Linked DNA regions of Homo sapiens: regions 2, 3, 4, 5 and 6 are each linked to region 1. Evidence: promoter capture Hi-C in 16 types of primary human blood cells and fetal thymus (Javierre and others, 2016). All regions are on one chromosome and are shown on one strand. Each heading gives the region's core, a stretch centred on a gene start or on the middle of the fragment in contact. The rest is flanking DNA. Distances are from core to core; before and after follow the strand shown.

Region 1 (3,234 bases), core at 636-3,135:
TGCATATTTTCCTAAGCTTTTAATTGACTGGAAATGTGTATGTATGTTGGGGGCCAGCTGCTGGTGAACAAAACTGGCTGTAGCTACTGAGCATACTCAGTGTCACTTAGAAATCCCCAGAAGTTTCAGAATATATATCACTTTTGTAAGATTTCAGTAGATACCACAAGCAGAAGAGCAAGCAGAAAGGGAGATTTCCGAGAATTTTAATGAGATGGGGGGCGGGGACAGTGAAGAGCAAAAAAAATGGTTTTTCCATATCCAAAAATATACTCAGCCCTGACTTAAAAAATGCTCTTGGCTGGGCGTGGTGGCCCACGTCTATAATCCGAGCACTTTGGGAGGCTAAGGCAGGTGGATCACTTGAGGCCAGGAGGTTGAGACCAGCCTGGCAAACATGGCAAAACCCATCTCTACTAAAACTACAGAAATTAGCCAAGTATGGTAGGCGCACCCTCGTAATCCCAGCTACTCGGGCTGCTGAGGCACCAACCTGGGAGGCGGAGGCTGCAGTGAGCTGAGATCGTGCCACTGCACTCCAGCCTGGGTGACAGAGAGAGACTCTGTCTCATAAAAAAAAAAAAAAAAAAAAAAAAAAAAGCTTTTTACATTTTCAAAAATATGCAGAATTGTCCTTGACTGTTGAACAATTTAAATCCTCCATTATGGATGTGAAGAATTTTAAGACTCTTAGTTTTTATCAAATAACCAAATGGAAATAGGAAGTAGCCAGTAGATTATCTCTACAGCTAAACAAAACAAACAAAGCAGAAACCTGCAAAAGACAAAGCATTCTTGAAAAATGAAGTAAGGTCCTAGAGAAGCTATTTCCACCATCCAACACCAGCTGAATTCCCAAATGGTTAAACTTTCACTATAAGTGCTACCCCACTCCAAGTAAAAACTACCTAACACATGGGAGTAGTAAACATGAAACATTGCTCTCATTTATTTAATAGTCGTCACCTTGTAAATAAATATGAGTACATCAGATCTCCAGTTATGGGGCTGGAAGATTTTTAGCATAAGGACAAGTAGGATGCAGAGGAAAAAGGGAGAATGGCTAGAGGCATAGCAAATAATTATTTTCTGTAACACGGAAGACTTTTATCCTATTTATTTACAAGGGAAACCCTCGATTACAACTTGTCTATTAGGTTCTGAGACCTTTTGTGAAATCAGACCCCCAAAAAAGCCGGGGGGATCTGTGAAAAACAGATCCAAGTGTATTTGATATTTGGCATTCTCCGGTGTCCCTCCCACTTGTCACTTTCTTTTCTGATCCGTTTCAGATTCATTCCATATCCTTTTCATATTCATTTTATGTTGATCCTCTTGTCCCTCCTCCCTCATTTTCGTGGTTCCTTCTCCCTCCTCGTCTCATTAAAACTCTTGCAAATCTCCCTTTCTGCTTGCTCTTCTGTTTGCGGTAGCTGCTGAAATCTTACCGAAGTGATGTATATTCTGAAACTTCTGCGGGTTTCTAAGTGACATTGAGCATGCTCAGTAGCTAGGGCCGGTTTTGTTCGCTTGGAAATCTCCCTTTCTGCTTGCTCTTCTGTTTGCGGTATCTACTGAAATCTTACCGAAGTGATGTATATTCTGAAACTTCTGTGGGTTTCTAAGTGACACTGAGCATGCTCAGTAGCTAGAGCCGGTTTTGTTCGCCAGCAGATGGCCTGATTCGACCTCTCCAAAAATAGACATTTTAACTCTCTGAACTCCTGTTTAAGGAAGGATGTAATTCGCTTTGCTCTCTCCTCATTTTCAAGGTTCAAAGGGAAGCTGCGAGGATTCCAAGGTCCCACCGCCCTCACAGCCAATGAGGGGCCTGGGAGGGAGGAGCTTGGTGCAGCTTGAGCTTCTGAGAGAATCATTCCCGGTAGATGCAGCGGAGTCTGAGCTCTGCTGCATCTGTCACAGCAGAACAAAATTAAAAACACAACAGTGGAAGAGAAACGCTGCAGACTATGGGACGCTGTAGGACTTTCTAAAACATTTGCTGGGGATTTCTGTGAAGCATGATCTTTTAAAACGAATTCTTTTGGAAGCCGGTTTGGGTAACTGGGAAAATGACACATATGCTAAATGCAGCAGCTGATCGAGTGAAATGGACCAGATCGAGTGCTGCTAAGAGGGCTGCCTGCCTGGTGGCTGCGGCATATGCTCTGAAAACCCTCTATCCCATCATTGGCAAGCGTTTAAAGCAATCTGGCCACGGGAAGAAAAAAGCAGCAGCTTACCCTGCTGCAGAGAACACAGAAATACTGCATTGCACCGAGACCATTTGTGAAAAACCTTCGCCTGGAGTGAATGCAGATTTCTTCAAACAGCTACTAGAACTTCGGAAAATTTTGTTTCCAAAACTTGTGACCACTGAAACAGGGTGGCTCTGCCTGCACTCAGTGGCTCTAATCTCAAGAACCTTTCTTTCTATCTATGTGGCTGGTCTGGATGGAAAAATCGTGAAAAGCATTGTGGAAAAGAAGCCTCGGACTTTCATCATCAAATTAATCAAGTGGCTTATGATTGCCATCCCTGCTACCTTCGTCAACAGTGCAATAAGGTACCTGGAATGCAAATTGGCTTTGGCCTTCAGAACTCGCCTAGTAGACCACGCCTATGAAACCTATTTTACAAATCAGACTTATTATAAAGTGATCAATATGGATGGGAGGCTGGCAAACCCTGACCAATCTCTTACGGAGGATATTATGATGTTCTCCCAATCTGTGGCTCACTTGTATTCCAATCTGACCAAACCTATTTTAGATGTAATGCTGACCTCCTATACACTCATTCAAACTGCTACATCCAGAGGAGCAAGCCCAATTGGGCCCACCCTACTAGCAGGACTTGTGGTGTATGCCACTGCTAAAGTGTTAAAAGCCTGTTCTCCCAAATTTGGCAAACTGGTGGCAGAGGAAGCACATAGAAAAGGCTATTTGCGGTATGTGCACTCGAGAATTATAGCCAATGTAGAAGAAATTGCCTTTTACAGAGGACATAAGGTAAGATAGAAATTAAGGTGATGGGTGAAATGTGAAACTGTTCAAGTTGCCACTGCAGTGCCAGATACCATCTGTTGTCCTGTCGATGGACCCACTTCTTTAGTGTCTTAGATTCCTCTGACATCTAAACCTGAATTAAAATATATGCTTCATTACCCCTTTTAACTGTAACCAGTTAAAGGATTATAGGGTGCAAACTTTTCTAAAGTTTCAGAAGAATAAA
Region 2 (3,073 bases), core at 342-2,841, 300 kb after region 1:
ATAAGTAAGTCATTATGGAAAAGAGCCCCAATTATTTATATAATATTCTGAACCTGTCAATACAGTCTGTAGAAAACATGTAGTCATCTCTGTGTAGGAGATGGAGCCTGACGTGTGAACTCTTGCCATATTTTATGCATCTTTCCAATGGGAAAGGAACCATGCAGCCAAAATTAGAGAAAATTATTTTCCTGCTGAACATTATTCCCTGTTGTAGATTTGTATTGGTATGCCTTCAGCACTTGTCTTGCCTTTTCTTTTACAAGTAAATTAGAACTGAAAAATCTTTGAGACCACTTGATGTTTAAATTTTTGGAGATTCTTCAGCTTCTGTGAGCCCACAAAAGCCTCTAATTTAGATAGCCTGAGTTGGAAAGAGGCAAATTACTTTACTTCTGGGGGATATAACAGTTTACAAAGACCATTGTTACAAGTGCAACACGTTTTTGTCATCTGATTGTTCTAGACAAGTTCACCACAAAATTTCAATAATTGTGTTCTTGGAATAAAAAATCACCTTTACGGATGGAGAGAGTAGGACTGGGAGTGGGTTGCAGGGGTGGAGAAGTTGGAGGGATGTGGAAAATGTAAATGTCATCAAATTTGAAATGACAAAGTATCCACACATTGAGCCAGAATCTCTCTTGCAAGAATGCCATACTAACAATACTGCCATAAGGTATTTATTAACTCTGACTTGTCTGCTTGGACTTGGAATGATAATGATTGTTTTCTGCTATTGCCTCCCTGTATAAATCAATAATCTCTAAAATTTATAGGATGCCATTTAAGATCTGTCTGTCTGGCATGTTTAGATCATTTTAAATGGCTCTATAAACTTAGAGAATCATACCGTAGTTTTTAAAGAATTATAAATATACTTAATTTATGGATAATTCTTTTATTTATGGATCCTTCATTAGATTTTAATATGGTTTAATTAGTAGAAGATATGTTCTTTACATTGATCTAGGTAGGTAAATATTTTCCTGTGTTATTAAACAAAATACTCTTTAACATTGTCAAATTATTTCTGTCATTAATTGAGAAAAGTTGAACATTAGGAATACTTTTGGGAAGTCAAGTTTCACTAGGTATACGAAGAGTTGCTAAATTTGTGTCTACCTTGCCTTCACAGTCAGAATATTTTCTGTCAATCTTTTGATAATCTTGACAACCTAATCACAGTTCCATATTTTTTACTGAAATACTTTATGAGCTACCAATAATTTGACTCTGTTGTCATCTCTATAAACTAAAATGTAGAATAACTGACTGCTCTACACTTTCAAAAACTTGACTACCCCTTTACATTACTTTCTCTGGGGCTCCTTTTTGAAGCAACCATATCCCACTAGCAAGACGCAGATCTCCCACATTGTTTCAGGTTACATTCTATGCTAACGCTCACCATATCCTCATTCTCCTCAAGCCTGTTGTACAGTCGAATAGATTTTCTTAATAACCAGACTCACTGCAGTCTTGGAGGCCTCAAGGTAGGGCTAACAGAAGTGACTTGTCCATTCTAAAAGCCCACTAAAGTACCCCAGCTGTTACTCAGATGCTCCCTAGTCAAAAGAACTCAGTGTTTTTGAGATAAGTTAAAGCCAAAAGTTATTAAATTTTGAGTGACTTGCTTTCTATGTGAAAACACAATCTATTTTGTGTAACTTCAACATTAGAGTCTATATCTAAAGTGATAATTATCAAGGTGAATAAAATTGATCAACAGTTATTGAAATGGGAAAATTTTTCCAGGACTAGTCAAATTAAATAGAGCAAACCTTGAAGTGCTATATCTCATGTACTTGATACTATTCTTCTGCAAGGCCTAAATTTTAGAAGTGAGGATAGATTTTGTATATCAGTATTAGAAAATTTTAGCCCCCAAAGTCTTGCTAGAAGACATAAATATCAAACTTTTTACGTAACTTAGCTATACTTTAAACATGCTAATATCCAGTGCAAGTAGAAAAGCAGGGCACTATGAAGGAAATGTTTGCTATATATCTGTTATTCATGCTGTTGATTTTGAGTCCAAAGTCAGTGTCCTTACCTGTTGACATCTGTATTCTTTCTCTCATAATTCTAACTCTTTCACTATAGGTCTGATGAAAGTGACTCCTCTCTCTCGGAGGTACACAGGTACTTTCTTTCCTGCCTTTCCTACATTCTGGAATTTCATTGATGTTCTAAAGTGCCTTCCTAGAAATTCTAAGCAAGTCTCATTTTTGTTGCATGCATCACTTGTTGTAAATCATATAAATGCACTAATATTTCTAAACATGATAATTTTAATACATTTTTGTGGTCATACCTTTTAGATAAAGTAGTGGTTTTTTTTGTATAATAGTTTAAAAATTGTGATACCTGTTTTCTGTCTGTAATCTGAATCTTTTCTTTAAAAGAAATCAAGTTTTATGAATATTGATGTCAAGAAGATTTCTTACTCTCAACAATTAGGTATTTCTAATGCCTCAAAGTGTGTGAGGTAGATAAGGTATTTTTTTCTTGTTGGTTTAGCAATTTTAAGTAAAAAGATTATATGATTAAAAATAAAAATATGCTAGAGAAAAAAAGGATACTATTATACCAAAAATTAAAAAGAATAGGAAATAAACACTAAGGAAGCATTTTTTAAAATAAATATTCTTAAGAATAGGTGCAGCTTTAAAAATAACTGTTATTTTTTTTCATTTTATGGATTTTTCTGGGGGTCCTTAACTTCTCTTTCTCTTTCTCTCTGTCTCATTCCCTTTCACCATTATCATTTTATGTCCTCCCTCTTTGCACTTGTTTTCCTTGTTTTATGGCCATTTTTGCTGATCATCAGCAGATCCTCCAGAAGGTAGGCAGGGGAAGGGAGAGGAAATTAATTTCATTTCCAGTATCAAAAGACCTTACAGGTTTGCATGGAACAAAAATAAGTGTTTATTTTTTTCTCTCCTTCAGATCAAGTCTGTTGTACAAATTTGCCATATTTAACCTTAAACTTGTTTAAAGTTGATTTTATATTTCAAAATGTGAATAGATTAATTCAAATAGAGAAATACCATGGCTGTATGTTTCTAAT
Region 3 (3,375 bases), core at 443-2,942, 280 kb after region 1:
AAGTGCTTATCAAGTTGTTGAGAATTCAAGTGCCAGGTACTGTTAAAACGCTGTGTGGGTGTTAACTGGTTGAATTCTCACAAAAATCCAATGCTGTGGAAATATTATTTCCATTTTATAGATGAGCAAACCAAAGCCTAGAGAGGTAAAGTAATTCGATCAAGGTCACACAGCTACTGATAGTAAGCTAAGTATCAAGATTTCAAGTTGCAGAACAACTGAATATTGAATACAAAAAGCATAGAATACTAAGCAATTTAATAAAAATGTATTAGAAATAGAAATATATGAATCCCACAGAAATAAGAATTGCCCACTTTAAACGTGCAGCAAAACTGCATGTTTCCATGTTAAGTATTCAGAATTCTAAGAACTTACTTCCATATATGTGGTTGATTTAATGAATGTTGTGACAGAGTAATTTCAATAGATGTCTATACCTAATTGGTTAGGTTCGCCTAATGAAACAAATGAAAGAAGAACAAGAGAAAGCCAGACTGACTGAGTCTAGAAGAAACAGAGAGATTGCTCAGTTGAAAAAGGATCAACGTAAAAGAGATGTAAGTGGATTTTAACTCTCAGTTATATAAGAAAATTGTACGTTGAAAAAGATTGTTTAATAAATGGAGGAAAAATTTCTGGTAACCATAACTACTAATTGCAGGTTAAGGACAATAGATAAGCATACACTTTATAAAATGTCATTTATTACAGTATGTGGATTATGGTAATTCAGTATAAGAGTTCATAAAAAACACTGTAATATTATATATTTTATTTGAGGCTTATTTTCCAGATGATGACATAGAAGTAAATGGCAAGAATGACTGGTTATCTCTAGGATGACCAAGGAACTAGTTGCAGTATTATATAAGATAGCAAGTTTAGGATGGTTCTGAAGAATGTTTTATCACTAGAGGTACTTATAAATAATCCTAGAGTTAACAACCAGCCCTTATTAGAAGAGGCTTTTCTAAGGACTATCAAAATTTTTGTATCCTTTGACTCAAGATTCTACTTCCATGAATTTAGATGAAGAAAATAATGTAAAACAAGTAAAAATACTATGCATCAAAATCTTCACTGTAGGATTCTTTGTAATTGTGAAAAAAGTAAAAACAACCAAGATCCCTGACAGTAGGAGGAATGGTTAAAGAAATTATGGTACATTCCATTTATATTTTGAAACTGTATACTTATCTGAAAAATGACCATGCATTAAGTGTAAAGCATGGTCATTTTACAAATAAATGTATGCTTGATTTCAATGAAGGAAAATTCAAAGGATACATCTCAACGTGCTAATTGTAGTTGTGTTAGGGTTATAAGTTATGGTTGATTATTTTTCTTCTTCTTTCCAAAATTTTGGCAATGTGATTATTTCTTTTAGGTGAAAAATTATAGTTATGATTTTTTTTTTCTTAAAAGAAGAAGCTGGGTGCAGTGGCTCATGCTTGTAATCCCAGCCAGCACTTTGAGAGACTGAGGCCGGAGGATTGCTTTGAGCCCAGGAGTTCTAGACTAGTCTGAACAACAACACAGCAAGACTGCCTCTTTGAAAAAGAAGAGGCCATCACTTTTTCCCTTATTATTGGTTAGGTTTCAGCCATTATTCCTTTTTACTTGCTGAACTTTTCCTAAATCCTCCCTGGAAAAATACGAGCATAAAGCATATTTTAGAAAATGGAAATTTATTTTGGAATGTAAAGAGGAAAGGGGATAGAGAAAAGGGGGGTAGTGAGGTAGAAAAGTGGATAGCGGATATTTTGTCCAGATGACTCCCCTATTTTGGTTATGTTTATTTCTTTTTTTCTCCTACAATGTCAGTGTATTTTAATAATCAGTGTATTTGTCACAGTTAATTCCTGGGCATTTAAAATTGTGTTTTTATCGATTTGTTCCTACTGAAATCAAGTAGAAGCACATTCTAACATATTGCCTATTCTTTTTTTGTTATTGTTTTAAAAGTTGAGATATAATTAACTTATCCTAAAATTTACCTTTTAAAGTGTACAATTCATGTTTTTAGTATATTCACAAAAGTGTGCAATGATCACCACCATCTAATTACAGAAAATTTTCATTACTCCAGGAATATACGCTATACCCATTGGTAGTCACTCACCATTGCCCCGGCCCCTGGCAGCCACTAATCTACATTTTGTCCCTGTGGACATTGCATATAAATTGAATCATACCAGATGTGGCCTTTTGTGTCTTGATTTTTTTTTTTTTTTTTTTTTTTGAGACAGAGTCTTACTTTGTCGCCCAGGCTGGAGTGCAATGCATGATCTTGGCTCACTCTAACCTCCGCCTCCCAGGTCCAAGCCATTCTCCTGCCTCAGCCTCCTGAGCAGCTGGGACTACAGGCATGCACCACCACACCTGGCTAATTTTTGTATTTTTAGTAGAGATGGGTTTTCACCATGTTGGCCAGGCTGGTGTCAAACTCCTGACCTCAAGTGATCCGCCCCGCCTCGGCCTCCCAAAGGTGTGAGCCACTGCACCCAGCTGTGTCTGGCTTCTTTTATTTAACACGATGTTTTCAAGGTTCAGCCATGTTATAACATGTATCAGCACTTCATTCTTTTTTTATGGTTATATAGATAGAATATGTTTTGTTTGTCCATTCATCAGTTGATAGACGTTTGGGTTCTTTCCATTTTTTGGCTGTTTATTTTATATTTAATGAAAACCTTTGAACAACGGGAATAATTTCTTTACAGTGTATGCTACCTATTTCTTTATTACTAATTCATATAAGATAAGGGAGACCAATACTGAACTCCTGGGATGAACTTTTTGAATCTTTTCCATAACATGTGATGCCTATATTCTATTATAAAGACACAATGCTGGCTAGTCACATATAAAGCTAACATTCATACTCCCTCTCCCTTTTATTTGTTGCCTTGTGTACATATTGACCTCCTTTTAAAATTGTTCCTTGTTATATTCATCTTTGAACCCTTAGAAAGTTCAGGGTGACATTTATATACCATATAAAAATATGAATGAGCTTGAGATTTGGTTTTTAATAGGAAGAAATTTAATGTAACAAGTTTGAAACTATATGATAATTTTAATTTCTGATAATTCATTAATTAAAAAACATATTAATTTTGCTTTTATATCAGTCACTGTGGTAGGCAATTAAGATATGGCTGTGATAAGATAAAGTCATTTTCTCAAGGAATTCCCATCTGATGAGACAGAAATATACATAAACATAAAATGAATGATCTGTTTGAATTTGAATGCAAAACACGAGTGATTATTTGTTAAATAACAGAATTTAAGTACTAGAAAGGAAGTTTGTAGTGAACTGTCATTCTTAAACTTTGTCCAAGATCACAGAATTGAATAAATGATAGA
Region 4 (3,287 bases), core at 306-2,805, 510 kb before region 1:
TGAAGTCAATATTATTAGCAACATTTTTATTACTTTATGAACTTGAATATATATTTGGTATAAAAGACCTGCAAATAACAAAGTTGTTTACCCAGGAGTTTATAGATAATTAACCCTTAGTTTGTAGGGTTTTTAAAAAACTAATATTTTATTTTCAACTTTGGCTAAGAAAGACTGCATGAACATTTATAACATCAAACTGACCACTACAAGGTATTGTGAAAAGTTAGGCCATTTTAAATGAAAAGATACTAAGAAATGGAAGCATTATATATTAGGCTTTTAAACATTGCATAAGGGATCATAAATTAAAAGAGTTTGTTGGTAAAATAAAGGTGGAAGGTCAAAGAATCTCCAAAGTCCCCTCAAAGGTATGTTTCTTTGAGTAACAGGAAAAGACTACATGAGGAAATTCAGAAGCAGAAATAAATAGTGGAATTTTAAAAAATTATAAAGTAATCTTGAAAAATACATAACTATAATGGCATGGTGGGCTACAGTTGGCATGAGAGGTAAGTGGTGAAAACAATGGTCTGTTTGTAGGAATGAGAAAAAAACTTGCCTTAGGGAACTTGTGGAACAAAGGAACAAATGTAAGAATATGTATGCAAAATTACCTATGGGTGGAATGTTCATTAGATAAATTATTTTAGAAGCAGGCCTTGAAAGCTCCCAGAGAAGCTGGTGATAGCAGAATTAACAGTAAAAATCGAAATTACATGAGTTGTTTTTGAAATTAAAAAATGAATAATAATTATTATTACACTGTAGCAATTAAAAGTGCTAGCAAGAGCAGAGATGCAATATATTGAAGACTAAATTAATGATTTAGTATCATATTCTAGAGTTCAAAAGATTAAGAGAAGAGAGGAAAACATCAAACAGGTTCAACAAAAAACTTATTAAAAGTTCATAAGACTCTAGAGATCTCACCCCTGCTATTTTTCCAAAAGCATCTCACTCTCCATCACCTTCCTTCCCCTAGCAGGGTGCCTCGTGTTCTGGTCACAGCTAATTTTCACATTTTTGTTGTCGTTGTTGAGACGGGGTCTCCCTATGTTCCCCAGGCTGGTCTCAAATCCCTGTGCTCAAGTGATCCTCCCGTCTGGGCCTCCCAAAGTGCTGGTATTATAGGCATGAGCCACCGCACCCAGCCTATTTTATTTCTTAAGACTAGAAATTAATTCCAAACCAAAAGAAAAGCTCTATGCGGGAAGGGACTGTGTCTCTCCTGCTCACTGCTGTGATCACAAGACCTACTATCGTACTTGGCATGCAGTAGGTACAAAATAAAGAATGGTTAAGTTGGGCATGGTGGCTCATACATGTAATCCCAGCACTTTGGGAGACCCAGACAGGAGGATGGCTTGAGGCTAGGAGTTTGAGACCACCCTGGTCAACATAGCAAGACCTCTGTCTCATAAAATTAAAAAATTAAAAAAAATAGCTGGATGTGGTGGCATGTGCCTGGAGTCTCAAGTACTAGGGATACTGAGGCAAGAGGATTACTTGAGCCCAGGAGTTAGAGGATGCAGTGAGCTACGATTGTGCCACTGCACACTAGCCTGGGCAACAGAACAAGACCTTGTATCTATTTAAATAAATACATAAAAAAGAATGGTTAAATGAATGAGTTAATAGATTAATAAGCAAATAGTTAATAAGCAAGTTATTAATAAGCAAAACCATGAAAATTACATGATGTAAACTATAACGGAGTAGGTAGACAAACATTTCTTCTAAGGCTGCCTTTTGCAAACATAGTATGTTTCCCCAGTCTCTTTGTGAAATTCTGGTGCCACTATGACCAAAAGCCCCTGGCATATCTGCTAGGAATCAAGGACAACAGTCAGTGGTGGACCCAGAGGCTAAATAGCCAAAAGTCTCTGAGAATTGTGTACAAGAACCAATGGTCCTCATGCTGGGATTAATTGTGTACAAGGACTGGAGAACATTTCTATTTAAGAAAAGCAAGCAAATTTGTTCAACTGCTACTTCCTAGCGAGTAACTATGGAGAACATACTTTATTCCAAGCACTAAACCAAGTCCATAGAAGGTAATGAGGAATATAATGATATAATGTAATGTCTGCTTTCATGAAACTCAGAGTCTAATAAAAGAAACACACATATACATATACAGTTTTCTTCAACCTTGAGAATTATGTTCTTGAAAACTCAATGACAGGATAATTTGTAGGTTAAAAACAAAGGAATTTAAGAGACAATAGAAATGTGGCACAAAGTTCATAATGAAAACAGGAAGGTCTTATTATATGTGAGATATTTATACCTTTAAGAACAGTTTTTCATGACAAAAGAATCATTTCCTATGATATTAAAACTTGAAATTCAGTTTATTAAGGCTCTTCTTTAAAGTTTTATGTTCAACAGACAAATATATTCTACTTTGCATTTTAGCAGTTTATTTAATTTTAATTAAATTTTTTTTTTTTTTGAGATGGAGTCTCACTCTGTTGCCAGGCTGGAGTGCAGTGGCATGATCTTGGCTCATTGCAGCCTCAGTCTTCCAGGTTCAAGCAATTCTCCTGCCTCAGCCTACCGAGTAGCTGGGACTACAGGTGCACACCGCCACACCCGGCTAATTTTTTTTTTTTTTTGTATTTTAGTAGAGACGGGTTTTCACCATGTTGCGCAGGCTGGTCTCAAGCTCCTGAGCTCAGGCAATCCACCAGCCTCGGCCTCCCAAAGTGCTAGGATTACAGGCTTGAGCCACCGTGCCCAGCCAATTTTAATTTTTGAGACAGGGTCTTGTTCTGTTTCCCAGACTGGAGTGCAGTGATGCAATTATGGCTCACTGCAGCCTTGAACTCATGGGCTCAAGGGATCCTCCTGCCTCAGTCTCCTGACTAGCTGGAACTAGAGGCATGCGCATGACAACCAGATAATTTATTTTATTTTTTTGTAGAAATGGGGTCTCATTATGTTGACCAGGGTGATCTCAAACTCCAGGCCTCTAGTGATCCTCCTGTCTGGGCTTCCCAAAGTGCTGGGATTATAGGCGTGAGCCACTGTGCAGAGCCAAAATTTTAGCAGTTTCTGAATAATGTTTGATAGGTTCCATTCAATATGTTAAAATATTTTTAAGCTATACTTACAAAATATTCAATTTCCTTCTTTAATACTTCACTTGTATACCTTAAAATCCTCTCGAATATAAAATTAGTTCTTAAAAGATGATAAGCTTTTAAATAATTTGATTCCTAAGTTCTCTTAAATATTTTAATAGATACCCTTAATAAAGGCTTGACTTAAAGTCTAAATCA
Region 5 (3,253 bases), core at 637-3,136, 390 kb before region 1:
CCATGTGCCTGTATAGATTAGCGGCATCTGGGATTTTTACCACGTCACATTCTTTTAGAATTGAAGAAGTATAAATATTACCAGAATTGTAGTCAAATAATTTCAAGTTTTTTATAGAAAATATGACAAATAACCTAATGTATAAGGAAACAAAAGTTTCTGCAATTCCATCACTGTTTCTAATAGAAAATTATGAATGAGACATTAATTGTCAGTCTGCCTCTTCTTCAGATGGCTTTTGACTTAGTATTATTTTGTTTTAGGACCCATGTCTCTACATTGGACTTTAGAGCAGAGTTCTGGCCTCTTATCTTGAGCTTGTTAAAAGAAACTGTCGCCAGGCATGATGGCTCATGCCTGTAATCCTAGCACTTTTGGGGAGGCCAAAGCTCGAGGATTGCTTGAGCTCAGGAGTTCAAGACCAGCCTGGGCAACATAGTGAGACCTTGTCTCTGTAAAAGTTTTTTAAAAAATTGGCTGGGTGTGGTGGCACATGCCTGAAGCCCCAGATACTCGGGTGGCTGAAGTGGGACAATTGCTTGAGCCCAGGGAGTCAAGGCTGTAGTGAGCCATGACCATTGCCACTGTACTCCAGCCTAGGTGACAGAATAAGACCCAGTCTCAAAAAACAAAAACAAACAAACAAAAAAACCTTAATGTTCTATTTCCTATTAATAGTCACAATATTATAGATATTATCTAACAGTTTAAAGCCATAAACATTCTATTTGGCTAGTAAAATGTTTTCATCATTTATGATCAAAGATTTCAGGCATTTTTCTTCTTTAATTAGTTTAAGTTAACAATAAATAAATTCAGCCTCCCTTTGGAGGGTTAGAACAGGACAGATAAAGCTAAATTCCTCTTTGCCCATCACATCGATCCCACGCATTTTATACCTCTCTGCTCCACTGCTGGCCATAACAGATTTGGGGAATATTCTTCCAGACACACACACACAAACACACCTAGAGAATTTTTATGGTAATAGTATCATAATGCATGTATTATTAAGTTACTTGTTTGCTTTCTTTCAAGTTGAGTTGATTTGAGTCAGATCTTATATAAATCTAGTCCATCCCTTTAAACTTCTCTGTGATATTCCAGATATGGAATGTCACATTCTGTTTATGTGTTCTTTTATTAATAGGCATTACATTTGGGGGTATCATAAACAGTGCTGTAATGAACATCCTTGTATATGTTTTCTTGAGCACATGTATGTGTGTTTCTCTAGGGTAGATATCTAGAAGTAGAATTGTGCACAACCATTTATCTCATGGTGTTATAGTGTTATTTTAGTTCATTTGTTTCCATGGTAATTTCTTTCTAAGCTTCAAAGTATATTGGCTGGAAGTCATCGAATCACAACCTTTTAGAAATCAAAGCTCAGGTATCATCTTACAATATGAAGGATTAGTTTAATTGTTTCTCCATATTCTTTTTTTTTTTTTTTGGAGTGACGCAGTCTCGCTCTGTCGCCCAGGCTGGAGTGTAGTGGTGAAACCTCTGCTCACAGCGAGCTCCGCCTCCTGGGTTCAAGCCATTCTCCCACCTCAGCCTCTCGAGTAGCTGGGACTACAGGTGCCCACCACCATGTCTGGCTAATGTTGTTTTTGTATTTTCAGTAGAGACGGGGTTTCATCATGTTAGCCAGGATGGTCTCGATCTGTTGACTTCATGATCCGCCTGCCTTGGCCTTCCAAAGTGCTGGGATTACAGGCATGAGCCACTGTGCCCAGCCAATTGTTTCTCCATACTCTTAACATTTGGTATCTTGACCCTGGAGCTTCCTGTCATCACCACCACCCTGCTGCTTTTTATGCCTTAGTAAAATCTTTTTGGCTTCTCTGTTCTACTTTTATTAACAGAATTTCAGATAAGAGAATGTTGTTATAAGGAATCATTTTAGCAGGTGTGTTACTATATTTAGTCTAAAATTTTAAAAAATCTGGATAGGTTTTTTAAAAAAAATCCTTAAATGTTTTGAGATGCTGATTAGTTCAGAATTATACATATGTTGGTTTAAACTAGTTGAATCTTTTGATGCTGTTTAATTACCTCAGACTCTACCTCAGAAGTAGAAAGTGCTTATATTTTAAATCTGGGTTTTCCCGTAAAACCCATTGTATATTATAAAAGTAATATAGATAAGGCGTTTTTCCATGTATGGAATCTTTAAGGCTGGTAAACGATATCTTCCTTCTTTGAATAGTGTTTCTTCCTTTGAATAATTATGCTACCACTCATATTTAATGGCTTCTATGTGTGAGGTATTGTGCCATATTTTTTTCTTTTAATTCTTACAGCAAGCCAAATAACTAAAATGTGAACTATTATCATTTTATAGTTGTAAAAATTGATAGAGAAGTTAACAATCTTGCCCAAGTTTACCCTGTTAGGAAATAGAAGAACTAAGAATTCAAAACAAAGCTTATCTTATTAGAACAGTATACACTCTTCAATGTACTATATAAGGATACCCTTTTCCATCATCATTTAAAAACTATGTGAGTCTAGTTCTGGGATTATGCTTAATTTTAAAATAGTAATGACCTTTTTTTAAAAAAAAGTTTTAAAGTTGTTTTCAGCAGCAATTGTAAATAAAATAGTTTGGTGGACAGTCAATTAATTTTGTGTGGCTTTTTTTTGGATAGCAAAAAAGAACTTATGAAGTTTTAGAATATTTATACTATTCTTGAACTATTTACTGATTCTTCTTTCATATACTTACTAGACCGTGTGCTTAAAATTTTGAATCTTTAAAAGTAATGCAAGTTTTTTATAGAAAATATGACAAATAACCTAATGTATAAGGAAACAAAAGTTTCTGCAATTCCATCACTGTTTCTAATAGAAAATTATGAATGAGTTCCCTTCTCGCAGCATCTATGTGCCCACTTCACATTGGGCACTTCTCTCAGCCACAGAGCAAAGGTGGGAGGGGCTCATTAGTTTCAAGAAATTCTTATACTGGGTCAACTTTAGTAAGAAAGAAAGAAACGAAAGTTGAACACACATGACTGTTAGCTAATTAAAAGATGTGGCTCATCTTCTTTATAAATAAATAAACTGATTAGTGACCCATTGCTGGAAACTGGAAGAATCAGAAGTAAGTGTGCATCTGCTAGCATTACAAATACTCAAATGGGAATTTCTTTATATTATTAATGATTAAATTTATGAAGGAATTAAAAATATGATCTTGGCAGCAGAGAGTATGAATTTGTTATGTGTATTTGAGATCTGTCTA
Region 6 (3,227 bases), core at 482-2,981, 370 kb before region 1:
TTCAAACAAAGAATATTAGGCAACTTCATACTGACACACAAGAAAAAATAATAGGATGGTGAGTGGGACATATTTTTATTGCCCTGAATTGATGCTGTGGATGGGTGGGGGTCCAAAGCAGCAGAGGACAAAGGGGCTGGTAAGTAGCCTGTATTCTAAAGAGAGCACCCATGTGGGAAGAGAGGGGTCTTCCTCACATCCCAAACCAACCAATACAGATCAAGAAAATCATTGGTAAACATGAGAGGGACCTGCTTGACTGGGAGAGGCTAACATCCCATTGCCTAGCTAGACATGCACTTATGAGGCGTCCTTGCTAATCTGCCTCCTGTGTCTACTTAAGTAGGAACACTGGAGCATGATGGCAGCAGGGGAGTGGGGTGAACACGGAAGATGATGGGAGCAGAGCACTGGAGTGGCCTGAAAAACTATCATGTGGTAGGGCTACGATGTCACTTGGAGCCCATTTGAGATGAAGGAAAAAGCTTTAACCCAGATATAAGATTGAAGTTTTAAAGCAAATGGACTTACACAAATTGAGGAAAAGGATTTGAGAACTCTGCTATCTATGAGAAACTGTGGGCAGTTCTACAAAGCACTGCTGTGTGAAGTAAGTAGAGAAAAACACAGTCTTTCATGGTTGAACTCCGTGAAGTTAAGACTGTATAAGGAACAAGATAACTGTCTGCAAATCAGAGGAAACTTCTCTGTGGACCAGTACAGGCTCACAGATTGATTTTTAGGAAAGACCTAATCTGGTCCAAGCCTTCACTTTACAGGAGGAAAATCAGTGTTTGGCACACACTTCAGGGGGAGAGAGAGAGCTCCGTTGATGAAAAAAGGAGACTTGAACCTTGAAGCCTAGGTTTGAGAATCGAATACAATTGAGACTAATTTGAGTATGTGTTTGTGTGAGTTTGGAGGTTTGAAAAGCTCTGATTAGAGCTTTTGTTGTAGAGAGAGTTGGCATTGCTTAAAGTTTCTAAACTGTGATCATATAATGCATACATAAAGTATGGATATTAATATATTGAAGTGTCCCAAGCACAGCTGCCACTAGGGGGCAATGGAGGCCCCCCACAGTGTCACAACCACCTAGTCGTAGCCCTAGAACCAGGGTTGCAAGAAAATCCCTTTGCCTGCTTTTGCCCTGTTTCCTTCAGCACTGTTCAGCACTATGGGTGAATAGAGCACCCATTCCCCAGATTTTGTGCTTCCCTGGTGTGTGCTGAGATACTATCCCCAGAATACAGTACAGCCAGAAATCCAAGTGTGGGCACATCCTTCTTGTACTTTTGATAATGTTGTTAAGTAGAAGAACTCTTACTCAGAGGAGAATGCACTGCTGGAACATGTGTTAGAAGTTAAAGTCCACACTCCCCATGTAAAATATGTATTTATCTCTCATGTGAATGTTATTCATTCAATCATTGAGCATTTATTGAGTACTCTGTGTGCTTGGCCCTCTTCTGTCCTCAGGGATATTGTGAAGAGATAGAGACATTCCTGCTCTGTTAGAAGGAACTCACTTTCCAGTGGGAGGAAGATGAGAAATAAAGAAGTAAATAAATATGTGTAAGACTACTTTATATAATAAAAGGAACTAATATTTGATCGTTATGACTCCAGAATACATGGCCATAGGTGTTACTAGAGTAGACATAGAACAATAGAACTGTATATAAAAGGAAGGAGTCCTAGACTTGGAATAATATTTTCTCCTCACTGGCTTCCTGTTAAAAATTAGAGCTATAGTCCTATCAGAGAAAACTCCAGGAGAATAAAATTGTGATTTTGTGGCCAAAAAACCCAAGTGTGGATGCAACCATAAACCGATCACTAAGAACACATTTACATTATTTAGGAGCTTGATGTATTTTACAGTAATTTCTCATCTGTAAAATTTCCTGACAGCAGTGGCAATTTTCTTTTTGTTTACCCAAACCTTGATCCTCTTCTGGATCATGGGGATTAATTTCTTTACTGGGGATTCTCTCAACTAGAACATTAAAAGTCTGCTTCCCTACAGTGTATTCTTATGCAAGACTTTGTGGAAAAAAAGTTGTGCATATGGCGATGATATTTTTAGCCCTTTCCATGTCAGTCAAGCCTGAATCTTCTTTTAAGACCTAGTTTCAGTGTCATTGGTTGTGTGTGTCTTCTTCCCTGGCATTCTCCATAACCCAGCCAGAGCAAGACATCCATTTTTGATTATTCATTCACTCAGAAAATGAATACCTGTTACATGCCAGGCACCATTGGGGGCACTGAAGATTTGGCAGTGATGAATGAAAGGAAGCCTGCCTTAAAGTTTTATTTCTAGTGGGGAGGGGTGACCAAGGAACACATAAACATATGAAGGTGGTAATAAATGTTAACAGATAATGGTGATAAAAGGTAAAATTTAATGAGCAGATTGATAAAGGATGGTTGAGGATATTGAGGCAAGAGGGTTGCACCTTTTTATAGGTTGGTCCAGGAAAGTCAGAGAGGTGGCATGTATTCAAAAGACTAAAATACGTGAGGAGAGTGAGCCATGTGGCTATCTGAGTCTGTGTGGGTAAAGCAGAATTGGCATGGAGAGTTTCAGGGGGTAAGGGCAGAAGACCAGATTATGTAGGGACTGTGAGGATTTAGGCTTTTATTCAAGAATGAGAAGGGAAGCCACTGAAGGGTTATGAGTAGAGGACTGACACAGCAGACTTAGGTTTACAAAGGCTCATCTGGCTCCTGCGCTCAGAGTACATGGAGTGAGACAATGGTGGAATCTGGCCCCTTAAATTGGAGGCTGTTGGAATAATTTGGGAAAGAGATGCTGGTGGCCTAGGCCTAGGTGATTGCTATGGGGGTTGTGAGAGGAGGCGACGTATAGAGTTAACAATATTTACTGATGCATTGGATGGGGATATTAGAAGAAGAGGAATGAAAGATGACTCAAAGGTTTTTGACTTATATATGATAAAAATCTTAAGCTTTGGTCATAAGCTATGAATTTAACAACTTGGTTTCCTCTTTAGCAGCATTTTCCTCCCCCCCTTCCTTCCTTCCTTCCTTCCTTCCTTCCTTCCTTCCTCCCTCCCTCCCTTCTTCCCTCCCTCCCTCCCTCCTTCCTTTTCTCCCTCTCCTCCCCCTCCTCCTCCTTCCCCTCCTCCTCCTAGTCTTCTTCTTCTTCCTCTTTTTTTCATTCATTCTTTTTCTCTTTCTTTCTTTCCTTTGTTTTCTTTTTT

Evidence for each region. Contacts are between HindIII fragments. The CHiCAGO score rates a contact against its expected background, and 5 or more counts as called.
Region 2: a fragment that was not itself captured here is called in contact with the fragment with the promoter of ABCD2 in region 1 in 5 of 17 cell types (naive CD4 T cells, total CD8 T cells, non-activated CD4 T cells and 2 more); the score reaches 10.8 in naive CD4 T cells.
Region 3: a fragment that was not itself captured here is called in contact with the fragment with the promoter of ABCD2 in region 1 in 1 of 17 cell types (total CD4 T cells); the score reaches 5.2 in total CD4 T cells.
Region 4: a fragment that was not itself captured here is called in contact with the fragment with the promoter of ABCD2 in region 1 in 2 of 17 cell types (naive CD4 T cells and activated CD4 T cells); the score reaches 6.2 in naive CD4 T cells.
Region 5: a contact is called between a fragment that was not itself captured here and the fragment with the promoter of ABCD2 in region 1, in 4 of 17 cell types (naive CD4 T cells, total CD4 T cells, total CD8 T cells and 1 more). The highest score is 7.3, in naive CD4 T cells.
Region 6: a contact is called between a fragment that was not itself captured here and the fragment with the promoter of ABCD2 in region 1, in 4 of 17 cell types (naive CD4 T cells, total CD4 T cells, total CD8 T cells and 1 more). The highest score is 7.1, in naive CD4 T cells.

Annotation. Positions count from the first base shown.
Region 1 is chr12:39,618,454-39,621,687 of GRCh38, reverse strand. It overlaps ABCD2 (ATP binding cassette subfamily D member 2), which reads left to right and starts at 1,885. Exons shown (of 10, transcript NM_005164.4): 1 at 1,885-3,011. The coding sequence starts at 2,073. RefSeq lists enhancers at 265-344, 1,574-2,093, 2,404-2,483. The HindIII fragment of the contact is 3,952 bases long and covers 604-3,234 here.
Region 2 is chr12:39,315,004-39,318,076 of GRCh38, reverse strand. It overlaps KIF21A (kinesin family member 21A), which reads left to right. Exons shown (of 38, transcript NM_001173464.2): 29 at 1-4; 30 at 2,107-2,145; 31 at 2,837-2,848. LOC101927019 (a long non-coding RNA gene) reads right to left here and starts at 2,145. Exons shown (of 3, transcript XR_007063276.1): 1 at 2,057-2,145. The HindIII fragment of the contact is 3,608 bases long and covers 1-3,073 here.
Region 3 is chr12:39,334,281-39,337,655 of GRCh38, reverse strand. It overlaps KIF21A (kinesin family member 21A), which reads left to right. Exons shown (of 38, transcript NM_001173464.2): 17 at 453-560. Among named protein-coding and RNA genes, the nearest start is that of KIF21A, 110 kb to the left of the region's middle. The HindIII fragment of the contact is 4,632 bases long and covers 1-3,375 here.
Region 4 is chr12:40,123,937-40,127,223 of GRCh38, reverse strand. No RefSeq gene overlaps it. Among named protein-coding and RNA genes, the nearest start is that of SLC2A13, 19 kb to the right of the region's middle. The HindIII fragment of the contact is 3,304 bases long and covers 1-3,207 here.
Region 5 is chr12:40,006,817-40,010,069 of GRCh38, reverse strand. All of the region lies in intron 3 of SLC2A13 (solute carrier family 2 member 13), which reads left to right. Among named protein-coding and RNA genes, the nearest start is that of SLC2A13, 98 kb to the left of the region's middle. The HindIII fragment of the contact is 1,099 bases long and covers 1,337-2,435 here.
Region 6 is chr12:39,988,538-39,991,764 of GRCh38, reverse strand. The region is part of intron 3 of SLC2A13 (solute carrier family 2 member 13); the gene reads left to right. Among named protein-coding and RNA genes, the nearest start is that of SLC2A13, 120 kb to the left of the region's middle. The HindIII fragment of the contact is 2,487 bases long and covers 488-2,974 here.